Regions from separate parts of the Homo sapiens genome. Here region 1 is linked to region 2. The links are contacts of gene promoters, found by promoter capture Hi-C in human tissues and cell types (Jung and others, 2019). All regions are on one chromosome and are shown on one strand. The core of a region is centred on a gene start or on the middle of the fragment in contact, and the rest is flanking DNA. Distances in the headings are between cores, read along the strand shown.

The links. Contacts are between HindIII fragments. The study calls those that stand out against the background at their distance.
Region 1: a contact is called between a fragment that was not itself captured here and the fragment with the promoter of ZNF566 in region 2, in 1 of the 25 tissues and cell types used here (pancreas).

The regions. Positions count from the first base shown.
Region 1 is chr19:36,251,175-36,257,081 of GRCh38, forward strand. No RefSeq gene overlaps it. Among named protein-coding and RNA genes, the nearest start is that of CYKILR, 15 kb to the right of the region's middle. The HindIII fragment of the contact is 4,412 bases long and covers 2,199-5,907 here.
Region 2 is chr19:36,486,093-36,491,599 of GRCh38, forward strand. ZNF566 (zinc finger protein 566) reads right to left here and starts at 3,469. Exons shown (of 5, transcript NM_001145344.1): 1 at 3,394-3,469. ZNF566-AS1 (ZNF566 antisense RNA 1) reads left to right here and starts at 3,535. Exons shown (of 1, transcript NR_036504.1): 1 at 3,535-4,948. RefSeq lists enhancers at 2,565-3,452, 2,759-2,838, 3,399-3,958, 3,453-4,338. The HindIII fragment of the contact is 11,175 bases long and covers 1-5,507 here.

The DNA.
Region 1 (5,907 bases), core at 3,155-5,654, 230 kb before region 2:
CAAGTAGCTGGGACTACAGGCATGCACTATCATGCCCAGCTATTTTTTGTATATTCAGTAGAGGCAGGGTTTCACCTTGTTAGCCAGGCTGGTCTCAACTCCTGACCTCAAGTGATTTGCCAATCTTGGCCTCTCAAAGTTTTGTATTTTTGAAGAGACGGGGTTTCATCATGTTGGCCAGGCTGGTCTTGAACTTCTGACCACAGATGATCTGTCTGCCTCAGCCTCCAAAGTGTTGGGATTACGGGCATGAGCCACCACACCCAGCTGTCTCTTATATATCTTTTAATCTATTGACTTCCCTTTTTTCTTGCTATTTATGTTTTGGAGAAATCAAACACTAGATCATATAGAGTTTCCACATACTGCCTTTGAGTACACCCCCATGGTACTGATTAACAAATTAGATGCTCTGTATTTTCTCTAAAATATCTGGTAATTAACTAGAGCAGTGGTTCTCAACCAGTTGTGTTTTTTGTTTCTTTGTTTGCTTGTTTGTTTTCTCTAGAAGACATTTGGCAATGTTTGGAGATATTTTTGGTTGTCACAACTGGAAGGAAGGATGGTATTGCTGGCACCTATTGGCTAGAGGCCAGGGTGCTGCTAAACATCCTATACTGTACAGGACAGCCTCCTCCCATCCCAAAGAATTATCTGGTCCAAAGTGAAAATAGTGTCAGAGTTGAGAAACTGTGCTCTAGAGACTTGATCAAATTCAAGTTCAGTTATTTTGGCAAGATCTGCTTGTCACTATTTTGTGATCAGATTTGTTAGTGGGCTTAAGTGTCATCAATGTGATTTATCCATTGTAAAGTGATTGCCTTTTGCATAATGTCATGCATTCACTGATGATCAATGCCTAGATTCATTATGTTGTTAGGAGTTGCAAACTGATCACTTTCTTATTGTGTCTCTCTTTCAGCCATTACTGGAATCCTTTTATTTCCATTACTGGAATTTCCATTACTAGAATCCTTTTATAAAAATAAAATCTGCCCACATCAACAATCTGATTACTCAGAGGGATAGCATGTGTAGGAAAGGGAGGATAAATGCTTGATTCTTTCCATTCATATTCATTAGTTTTCAGAATTACGAATTTCAGAATACTGCATTGGTTTCCTAGTTTCCAAAGGTGATTGCAGCAGATTGTATTTTCCAAAGATGGTTGCAATAATAGGCTTGTTCCATATGTTATTCTAGAATCTTGCCATTCCCACTTTAAGAGGTGGAGTCTAACTCCTCTGCCTTTGAATCTGGATTGGTTTATTGTTTATAACCAATGCTGTGTGACTCCCAGGGCTCAGTTTAAGAGGCACTGTGGCCTTCACCTCATTAGCTGAAACTCCAGTGTTTGAAATCTTGAGCCATTATCTAAGAAGGTCCAAGTGCTCTGAGCCGCCATGCTATGAGGAAGCCAAGTCACATGGGGAGGCTACTAGTCCAAGTCTTTGAGTCCTCCCACCCCAGGTACCAGACATGTGTGCAAAGCAGGCTTCATAGGTTTGCAGCCCTCAGGTATCAGGTTATTCCCAGCCTTTGAATCCTCCTGGTTGAGGCCACAGACATCAGGAGCAGGGGCAAACTATCTGCTCTGTGAGCTGTCTGAATTCCTAACCCACAGAATCAGTGAGCACAGTAAAATCATTGTATTATACTACTGAGTTTGGAGTGGTGTATTATACAGCATCAGTAACTGGTGAACAATGACTGATATACCCACACTTGTTTATGTCATATTACACACACACACACACACACACACACACACTTTTTTTTCTTTAGAGGTGGGGTCTTGCTGTGTTGTGCAGGCTGGTCTTGAACTCCTGAACTCAAGTGATCCTCCTATCTCAGCCTCCCAAAGTGCTGGGATTACAGATGTGAGCCACTGCACCTGGCCTATACTGACATATTTTATTTTACTTAAAAAATTTTTGGCTGGGCGCGGTGGCTCACGCCTGTAATCCCAGCACTTTGGAAGGCTGAGGTGGGTGGATCATGAGGTCAAGAGATCATCCTGGCCAACATGGTGAAACCTCATCTCTACTAAAAATACAAAAATTAGCTGGGTGTGGTGGTACACGCCTGTATTCCCAGCTACTTGGGAGGCTGAGTCAGGAGAATCGCTTGAACGCAAGAGTCGGAGGTTGCAGTGAGCTGATATGGCAGCATTGCACTCCAGCCTGGCAACAGAATGAGACTCTGTCTCAAAATAATAATAATAATAATATGAGCAAGAACAACTGCACCTAACAAATAAAAACTGATGGTAATACATAAGGTTACACAAATATTCAAAGACATATCATGATTCGAAAACCACATTAACTGTTCTCTTGGCTATCCCATACCAAGTGGAGCCAAAGGCTCTGCACAGGTTTCCAAACCCGAATCATAGCCATGATAGCAACTGTGGTCCTCTCCCTCCTGGTTACCTGCTCACCTGAAGCAGGTAAGAGCCTGCTTGGCTTCCTAGAGAGGCACTTCTGAGGCAGGAGAATAGGAAATTAGTATAACCAAGCCAGGCGCAGTGGCTCACGCCTGTAATCCCAACACTTTCAGAGTCCGAGGCAGGCAGATCATGAGGTCAGGAGTTCCAGACTATCCTGGCTAACAGGGTAAAACCCCGTCTCAACTAAAAATACAAAAAATAAGCCAGGCATGGTGGCAGGCGCCTGTAGTCCCAGCTACTCAGGAGGCTGAGGCAGGAGAATGGCGTGAACCCAGGAGGTGGAGCTTGCAGTGAGCTGAGATTCCGCCACTGCACTCCAGCCTGGGCGACAGAGCGAGACTCCGTCTCAAAACAAAAAGGAAAAGAAAATTAGCATAACCAAGGGTTAAGGTGGAAGCAAAAGAACAGCAGGTGCAGCAAGTTCTAGGCCAGGTTAAGCAGCACACAGGCCACATCCTCACTCCTGTGATGACAACACAGAAGTCTCCAGTTCAGCCTCTGGCCACGGGCCAATCCTTCATAGGGTGTAACCAATTGAAGACCTCGAAAAGGCACTTATGGGTGTTATCAAATTCTTTAGCTTAATAACTCTAAAGAACATTGTAATCTGGGCTCCTGAGCCGCTTGCTCTAGCCCACTCTGGCTCTGTAGAGTGGACTTTTGCTTCAATAAATCTGCAGTTTCGTTGCTTCTTTCTTCTTTCGTGGCTTTGATCTTTTGTTGCTTCGTGTAGTTTGTTTAATTCTTTCTTCAGTGAGCCAGAAACATGGACAACTTGCAGTCAAGACCTTCCATCCAGTAAAACTTCTACATTCTAGAAGTCTCAGTATTGCCAAGAGATGTCAAGGCATCAAGGGGTCAAGGTTAAGGCCTAAGATTAAGGCTCAATGTTATACGTGCCCTGACACTGGGGGAAAACAAGGAGGGCTGAATGGATTAACTGCAAATTCCCTGCCCCAATGTACTCCTTTGAATAAGGTGCCCTAGCCCAAGCACTTCCTTCAGAGGCCAGGCACAGTACCTGCTTACTGCGTAGTAGTGGGCGTCAGGTTCCAGCCAGCCTGCAGAATTATTCAAACAGGCCATTCACACCCTCCTTCAAGAACCAGGGGTTACCTCCCATACTCTTGGTACTACAAAGCCTCCTGGAATAGCCTCCACCTGATTACTGTGTTCCTGAGTGCAACACACTGTACCCCACATGGTGTGCTGGGCTCTCCTTCCCTGGGGCGAAAGTATGGGTAATTAGCAAACCAATGTTCATCTCATCTATCCAGTGTTAGCTACCATGTGCTTAGCAATAATCTGCACTTCCTTTCTAATTCTTGAGAGACATCCGGGTCCTCTGCTCCTGGGTGGAGGATTTTAGAAAAAAGGTCACTCAGAATGGGCAGGTGACTTGAACGCCTGCGGGTCCGACACAGCACCAAACCTCGCCAAGGCCTTCAGAAACCAAAAGTGCAACTGCCAGGAAAATGACTGCCCGTTCCAGTCACAGGACCGGCTACACGACCCAGGCAGAGACCGAGAAAGAGGCTCACCAAAAAGGCCAACATGCAAGAAACTGCCCTCCAGAGAACAGGGGACGTTTGTCCAAAGACATACATGCACACTCCCATTCACACACACAGCCCCAGCAATTTTTTTCAGGGGCTGCAGCCTGATCCAGAGCAGAGCGCAGTCAGCCTTGGCAAGGCGCATACACAAATCGCGAGCGGATGCTCACGTCACAGAGACCGCCACCGTTGCCTGGAGATGAGTTCTTCACTCTCTGCGAAGGAGGAGCCTTCTGTAGCAGCGCATCGGCTCGGGGCTAAGTCTAGTCCTCACTGGGGCGTCGACGGGATGGTATCCGGAGGCCAGGATTCGCGGAGGTTCGACCAGGAGGAAGAAACCTCAGGCGGAGCGTCTGGGAAGCAGCGCAGTATCCCAGGCTCAGGCCTGCGTGGACGGTGTGCCGGTGAGTCTCCCCAAAAGTCGTGCCCTTGCGATCTCCAGGACAGGTCTGCTTGTATGCCCAAGGGCTGCTCTCTCACCCCAGGGTCGTTGTCGCTCAGAGCAGAACCCAGAGGCTTCAGGGGCTGCCTGGAGATGAATGTTACTGTGCCACTGCAGTATGTCTGGGTTGTGTCTCTTTCTCTTATTTCTGTTTTCATTCTCCGTCTATCACTCTCTACCAGTTTCCGTCCGTGTGTGCGCGGGTGCGTGCGTGTGTTGGGATGCATGGGCAATGAAGGGCGGTTTCTTGTACCTTGGCCTTTCTTCTGGTGAGTCTCTCCTCGCATCTCTGTCTGGGTCATGTGGCCGGGTGTCATTCGTTTTCCAGGCGGTTACAGTTTGGGTTCGTGACCGGTGGGCAACGTGGGGAGCTACATGAGACACGGCGGGGATTAAATCAGCTCCCAATCATGAGCGGCCTCATTGCTAGAATCAAGACAACTACACCCCAGCAAAGGAAAAAATTCTCACAAAAGCTCATCATAAACCTGCTTATGCAGGTCGAGGTGCCCATCGACCTCACTCCTCTCAATCCTCTCGCGTGTGCCCTCACTGAGAAATCTAGCCACAGCTCGATACAGGGACGGAAAAGGAAGCCGGCAACGGGATGGGGCAAACATCTCTGTGGCTCCAACGCTGGCCTTCGTGGCCAAGTCACCCGTTTGGCACTCCTCCCCGGATGGCCGTGGTGGTGGCATTGCCGCCAATCCTGCCTGGGCTCTGGCCTCTGCTCTGTCCTCCCTCTTGCTCTGTCTGCCCTGTTTCTGAGAGGCCTAGGGGCTTGTTAGTCTGGCTCAATGTCTTCAACCCAGAAGACTTCCCAGTCCATCCGGGAGAAAGTTCCTGGGGGTCGGTGTCATGATTGTTTCCTTCTCCAAACCTCTTTCAGCATGATTGGGCAGGTGTGGTGATCCTGGAGCTCTGGGCTTTCATAGCTGTCTGGGACAGGGAAGCTTTCTGGGTCTCTGTGGCCCCGTGGTCGGTCCAGGAAGAGCGGGAGGCAACCCGACCGTTCCTGACATTTGCCTTCTAGGAAAGGCGGTGTGGCATGCCACCTGCACTTCCTCTCTGATTCTTGAGGGCCATCGGGTTCCTCTGCTCCTGGGGAAAGAGACTTCTAGCACTGAATCTTCTGGCTGCCACGGATGTCAGGGAGCCAAAGGGACTGGGTTTTGCTGGGTGCAGGGGAGGTCGCGTCGGGGGTACCTACCCGGTCGCGGGGTGGGGGTGGGGTGTAGTTTGTGGAAAGCTCTCGGCCCCTCTGGCAGGCATCTCTGAATGTGGCTTGGATTCGGGCGCAGGCCCTGTCTCGCAGGTTTTCAGGTGCGCTTGGCTTTTCCTCAGCTTTGTTGCGGAGGTCTCCCGTGGCCCCCGGGCGCACGGCTGGACACCACTGTCCGTCTCGCCATCGCCCCCTACGGCCTCAAAGACACCTGCTCACTCCATCTGCTTTTGGG
Region 2 (5,507 bases), core at 2,219-4,718:
TATTTTACAAAATAACTGGCCAGTACTCTTCAAAAGTGTCAAAGTCCTAAAAGATAAAAAGGATTAAAGAACACTCAAAGATGGAAGGAGACTAATGAAACAATACAATTCAATGCAGGACCTTGGATTGGATCCTGAAACAGTAAGAAAATTTAGCAAAATTTGAAAAAGGGCTCTAACTTAATTAAAAGTCTTCTATCAGCATAAATTTCCTGGTTTTCATCATTGCACTGTGGGCACCTGCAGAGTATCTGCAAATTCCTTATACTATGTTCACAACATGAAAATAAAATTTTAGGCCAGGCATAGTGGCTCACACCTGTAATCCCAGCACTTTGGGAGGACAAGGCAGTTGGATCACCTGAGATCAGGAGTTTGAGACCAGCCTGACCAATATTGTGAAACCCTGTGTCTACTAAAAATACAAAATTAGCTGGCCGTGGTGGCGCAAGCCTGTAATCCTGGCTACATGGGAGGCTGAGGCAGGAGGATTGCTTGAACCTGGGAGGTGGAGGTTGCAGTGAGCTGAGATCATGCCATTGCACTCCAGCCTGGGCAGCAAGAGCGAAACTCTGTCTCAAAAAAAAAAAAAAAAAATGAAAGAAAGAAAGAAAAGAACATTTTTAAAAAATTTACGAAGGGGAAAATGGACACAAAAAAGAAGATATACAAATGGCCAGTAAACATACAAAAAGGTGCTGAACATCATTTCACATCAAGGAAATACAAATTAAAACTATGATGAGGCTGGGTGCAGTGGCTCACACTTATAATCCCAGGATTTTGGGAGGCTGAGGCGGGCGGGAGTTTCACATGGTGAAACTCTGTCTCCACTAAAAATACAAAAATTAGCTGGGTGTGGTGGCACGCACCTGTAATCCCAGCTACTCGGGAGGCTGAGGCAGGAGAATGGCGTGAACCCGGGAGGCGGAGCTTGCAGTGAGCCGAGATTGCGCCACTGCACTCCCGCCTGGGCCACAGAGCGAGACTCCGTCTCAAAAAAAAAAAAAAAAACAAACCAAAACAAGACAAAACAAACCAAAACAAAAACCTATGATGAAACTGCACCACACAACCAATAAAATAGTTAAAAGACTAACCATACCAAATTACGGAGAGGATATGAAGCAACTGGAACTCTCATACATTGCTGGATGGAGTGTAAACTGGAACAACCACATGAGAGCTTCGTAGTATCTATTAAACATTAGCCTACCCTATGATCTAGCAATGCCACTCCTAAGTATTAACCCGGGAGAAAAGCCTTCATGTGTTCACCAAAAACACAGCAGAGTGTTCACAGCTGCAGCATCATTTGTAACAGCCCCAAATTGGAAGCTACCCAAATATCCATCAACAATGTAATCGACTAATATACTACAATATATCCCCAGTATAGTGAGAGCTAAGTACAATTACACTGAACAACATGAATGAATTTCACAAACATAATATATAACAAAAGAAGCCTGGCATAAAACAGTACATGCTGCATAATTGCATATATACATGAAGTTCAAGAATGTGTAAGACAGCCAGATGCACTGGCTCATGCCTGTAATCCCAGCACTTTGGGAGGCCAAGGTGGGCGGATCACCTGAGGTCAGGACTAGCTTTGCCAACATGGGGAAACCCTGTCTCTACTAAAAATACAAAAATTAGCCGGGTGTGATGGGTGCCTGTAATCCCAGCTACTCAGGAGGCTGAGGCAGGAGAATCGTTTGAACCCAGGAGGCGGAGGTTGCAGTGAGCCAAGATTGCATCACTGCACTCCAGCCTGGGTGACAAGAGCAAGACTCTGTCTCAAAAAAAAAAAAAAAAAAAAAAAAAAGAATGGGTAAAACTAGTTAATGATAGAATTCTGAATAGATTGTGTGGGGGAGAAATTACTGAGAAGTGGTATGAGGGAAGCATCTCAGGTCCTGGCAAAGTTCTTTGTATAGATCTAAGAGTGTTACACAGCTGTACACTTAAGATTTGCACACTTTATATAGGCTCTATGTATCTATTGACAGCCTCCTGCTCTGTTGCCCAGGCTGAAGGGCAGTGGTATGATCATGGCTTCCTGCAGCTGCAAAGCACTGGGCTCAAGCGATCCTCTCATCTCAACCTCCTGAGTAGCTAGGACTTATAGGTGCCAGCCACCATGCCCGGCTAATTTTTTATGTATGTATGTATTTATGGTAGAGTTAGGGTCTCACTATGTTGCCCAGGCTGGTCTCCAGCTCCTGGCCTCAAGTGATCCTCTCACCTTGGCCTGGCAAAGTGCTGGGATTACACGCATGAGCCTCCACACTTGGCCTACAAAAATTTTTTTAACTCTTGGAACTATGCTTTGGTAGGGATATGGAGCAATAAGATATTTCAAACATTGCTGTTCAAGTACAAATTTGTGCAGCCACTCGGGTATATATTTTGACACTGTTTAGTAAAGTGGAAGATATATGAACCGGCAATTCTGCTGGTAAATAAACTCAAGCATGTGTACCCCATGTGAAAGAATGTGGCTGTGTTGTTTATAAAATGAAAAGCTATAAATAACTAATAGGGCATCATTACTAGAAAGGATGAATAATTGTGGTATACTTCAGAAGGGAGAATATAGCAAAGAAATTGAATTAACCGCGATTTTATCTAATAGGGATGATTCACAGAATTGTAAAAATAAACCAAAGACAGTATGACAACATTCATATAAAGTTTTAAAACGGGGAAAAACTGGAGTATAATGCCTAGAGAAGTATACGTAAGTGATAAAACCTCACACTGTGTGACTTACCCTGCCACACAAACCTGATCACACTCCCACCATGGGGACATTCAGCTACAGACAATCCACGCCCAAAGCAACAGGGTCGCACACGCAGGGCCTCTATCGGTCACATAAGCACAAGTGCACGCTTACCGAGGAGGCAGTCACAGTCACAACCACATTGTCACAGTCGGCGCACACCTGTACCGGGTCACAGTCACGATCACACATTAACCACAGCCACACACACAGATAGAAACATGCAGTTACTCGCAGGTATCCCCACCTGAACTCTGCCGCACACAGTCACACAGCATATAGTCGCACACCACTACGGGGACAAACGCAGTAACACTCAACCAGGCACAAGCTCCCCACAGCCGCACACACAATGCCGCACGTGGTCCTGCTCCCTCTCACACACACACCAGCAGCCACAGTCTCCGAGGCCGTGCTGCACACGGTGTGAGCGTTGGAAACACACTCATCACAAGGGCAGCCTGTCACAATCGCGCGATCATTCACCACACACCTCCACACAGACGCAAGCGCACGCTTTCAATCTCACCTCCACCGCCGCACAAAGCCGAGGCTTGGCCCCCGGCCCCGCCCTCTCCCGGGTTTCTCACCTCAGGCCTTACCAGCTTTCGAAGCAGCAGAACCCTCCCCGGCACTGGGGTAGTTGCTGGTAAAGCCCTGAGGGTCCCGCCAGCGCGTGAGTTGGAAGCTGAATTACCGCGAGAAGTACAGTCTTGCCGAGGAGACCTCTGGGAAGCGTAGTCAGAGACGTATCAAGGCCGGACAAGATGGTTCCCGATCGTCAGAATTCCTGTCCGCGCCTTGCGTCAGCCCCGCCGAAAGGATCGCCCCCCCTAGTCAAACCGCTCGCGCCCCAGAGGCCTCATGGAGTCCCGCCTCAGGCTCGGGCCTTGGCCCCCAAAGAAAGCCACTCCGACGTGTTTGAGATGGGCTTAGTTCCCGGACCCGTCCTACTGCCCCCAGGCGCTGGACAGCCTCAGAAAGAGGACAAGTCTGCATGGAAAGATAATCGCACAACTGAGCCTTCTGGGAGATGTAGTTCGGAGCTGGGAAGGCGGTTGGACCCTCCGAAAGTCATCTTAATTGCTCTCACAGATAAGCCGGTGCTGGGCTGCCGGCCTGAGTACTGTGCGCCCAGAGTGCGCAGGCGCAAACATCCTGGGTTGCTGTTTTGGCCTCTTTGTTCGGGCGTGAATTTTGTTTATTGCTCCTTAGTGCAGAGGGGTTATGGGACCAGAGGTTGTGAGACTCAGAAGTGGTTGGGGACGCAGAAGGGGTGTAGACCAGGAACCTGCGACCTGATGGGGGGAGGTCGAAGGGAAAGGAATCGCCAAACGTGGGACAGGTTTGGAGAGGCAGAAAGAGAGGAGTCTGAAATTGCAAAGGGCAGGTGTTATTCTGACTTCTGTGTGCTTTGTGATAAATGAGTGGGGCAGGAAGTAAGAGGAGTTTCACTTTCTCCTTCTGCAATTATTTGTGTACTTGGACTAAGTGTATCTCATGGCCAGTATTTGACTGCTTTTGACCTATAAAGGTATTGTATACACAGTCATGCATAGTTTAATAATAAGGATATATGCTCTCCCCACGGTCTCCCTCTCCCTCTCTTTCCACGGTCTCCCTCTGATGCCGAGCCAAAGCTGGACTGTACTGCTGCCCTCTCGGCTCACTGCAACCTCCCTGCCTGATTCTCCTGCCTCAGCCTGCCGAGTGCCTGCGATTGCAGGCGCGCGCCGCCACGCCTGACTGGTTTTCGTATTTTTTTGGTCTCCACCAAACACAGGGTTTCGCTGTGTTGGCCGGGCTGGTCTCCAGCTCCTAACCGCGAGTGGTCCGCCAGCCTCGGCCTCCCGAGGTGCCGGGATTGCAGACGGAGTCTTGTTCACTCAGTGCTCAATGGTGCCCAGGCTGGAGTGCAGTGGCGTGATCTCGGCTCGCTACAACCTCCTCCCAGCCGCCTGCTTTGGCCCCCCAAAGAGCCGAGATTGCAGCCTCTGCCCCGCCGCCACCCCATCTGGGAAGTGAGGAGCTTCTCTGCCTGGCCGCCCATCGTCTGGGATGTGAGGAGCCCCTCTGCCTGGCTGCCCAGTCTGGAAAGTGAGGAGCGTCTCTGCCAGGCCGCCCATCGTCTGGGATGTGGGGAGCGCCTCTGCCCCGCCGCCCCGTCTGGGATGTGAGGAACGCCTCTGCCTGGCCGCGACCCCGTCTGGGAGGTGAGGAGCGTCTCTGCCCGGCCGCCCCGTCTGAGAAGTGAGACCCTCTGCCTGGCAACCGCCCCGTCTGAGAAGTGAGGAGCCCCTCCGCCCGGCAGCCGCCCCGTCTGAGAAGTGAGGAGCCCCTCCGTCCGGCAGCCACCCCGTCTGGGAAGTGAGGAGCGTCTCCGCCCGGCAGCCACCCCATCCGGGAGGGAGGTGGGGGTCACCCCCGCCAGGCCAGCCGCCCCGTCCGGGAGGGAGGTGGGGGGGTCAGCCCCCCGCCCGGCCAGCCGCCCCGTTCGGGAGGGAGGTGGGGGGGTCAGTCCCCCGCCCGGCCAGCCGCCCCGTCCGGGAGGCGAGGGGCGCCTCTGCCTGGCCACCCCTACTGGGAATTGAGGAGCCCCTCTGCCCGGCCAGCCGCCCCGTCCGGGAGGGAGGTGGGGGGGGGTCAGCCCCCCGCCCGGCCAGCCTCTCCGTCCGGGAGGTGAGGGGCGCCTCTGCCCGGCCGCCCCTACTGGGAA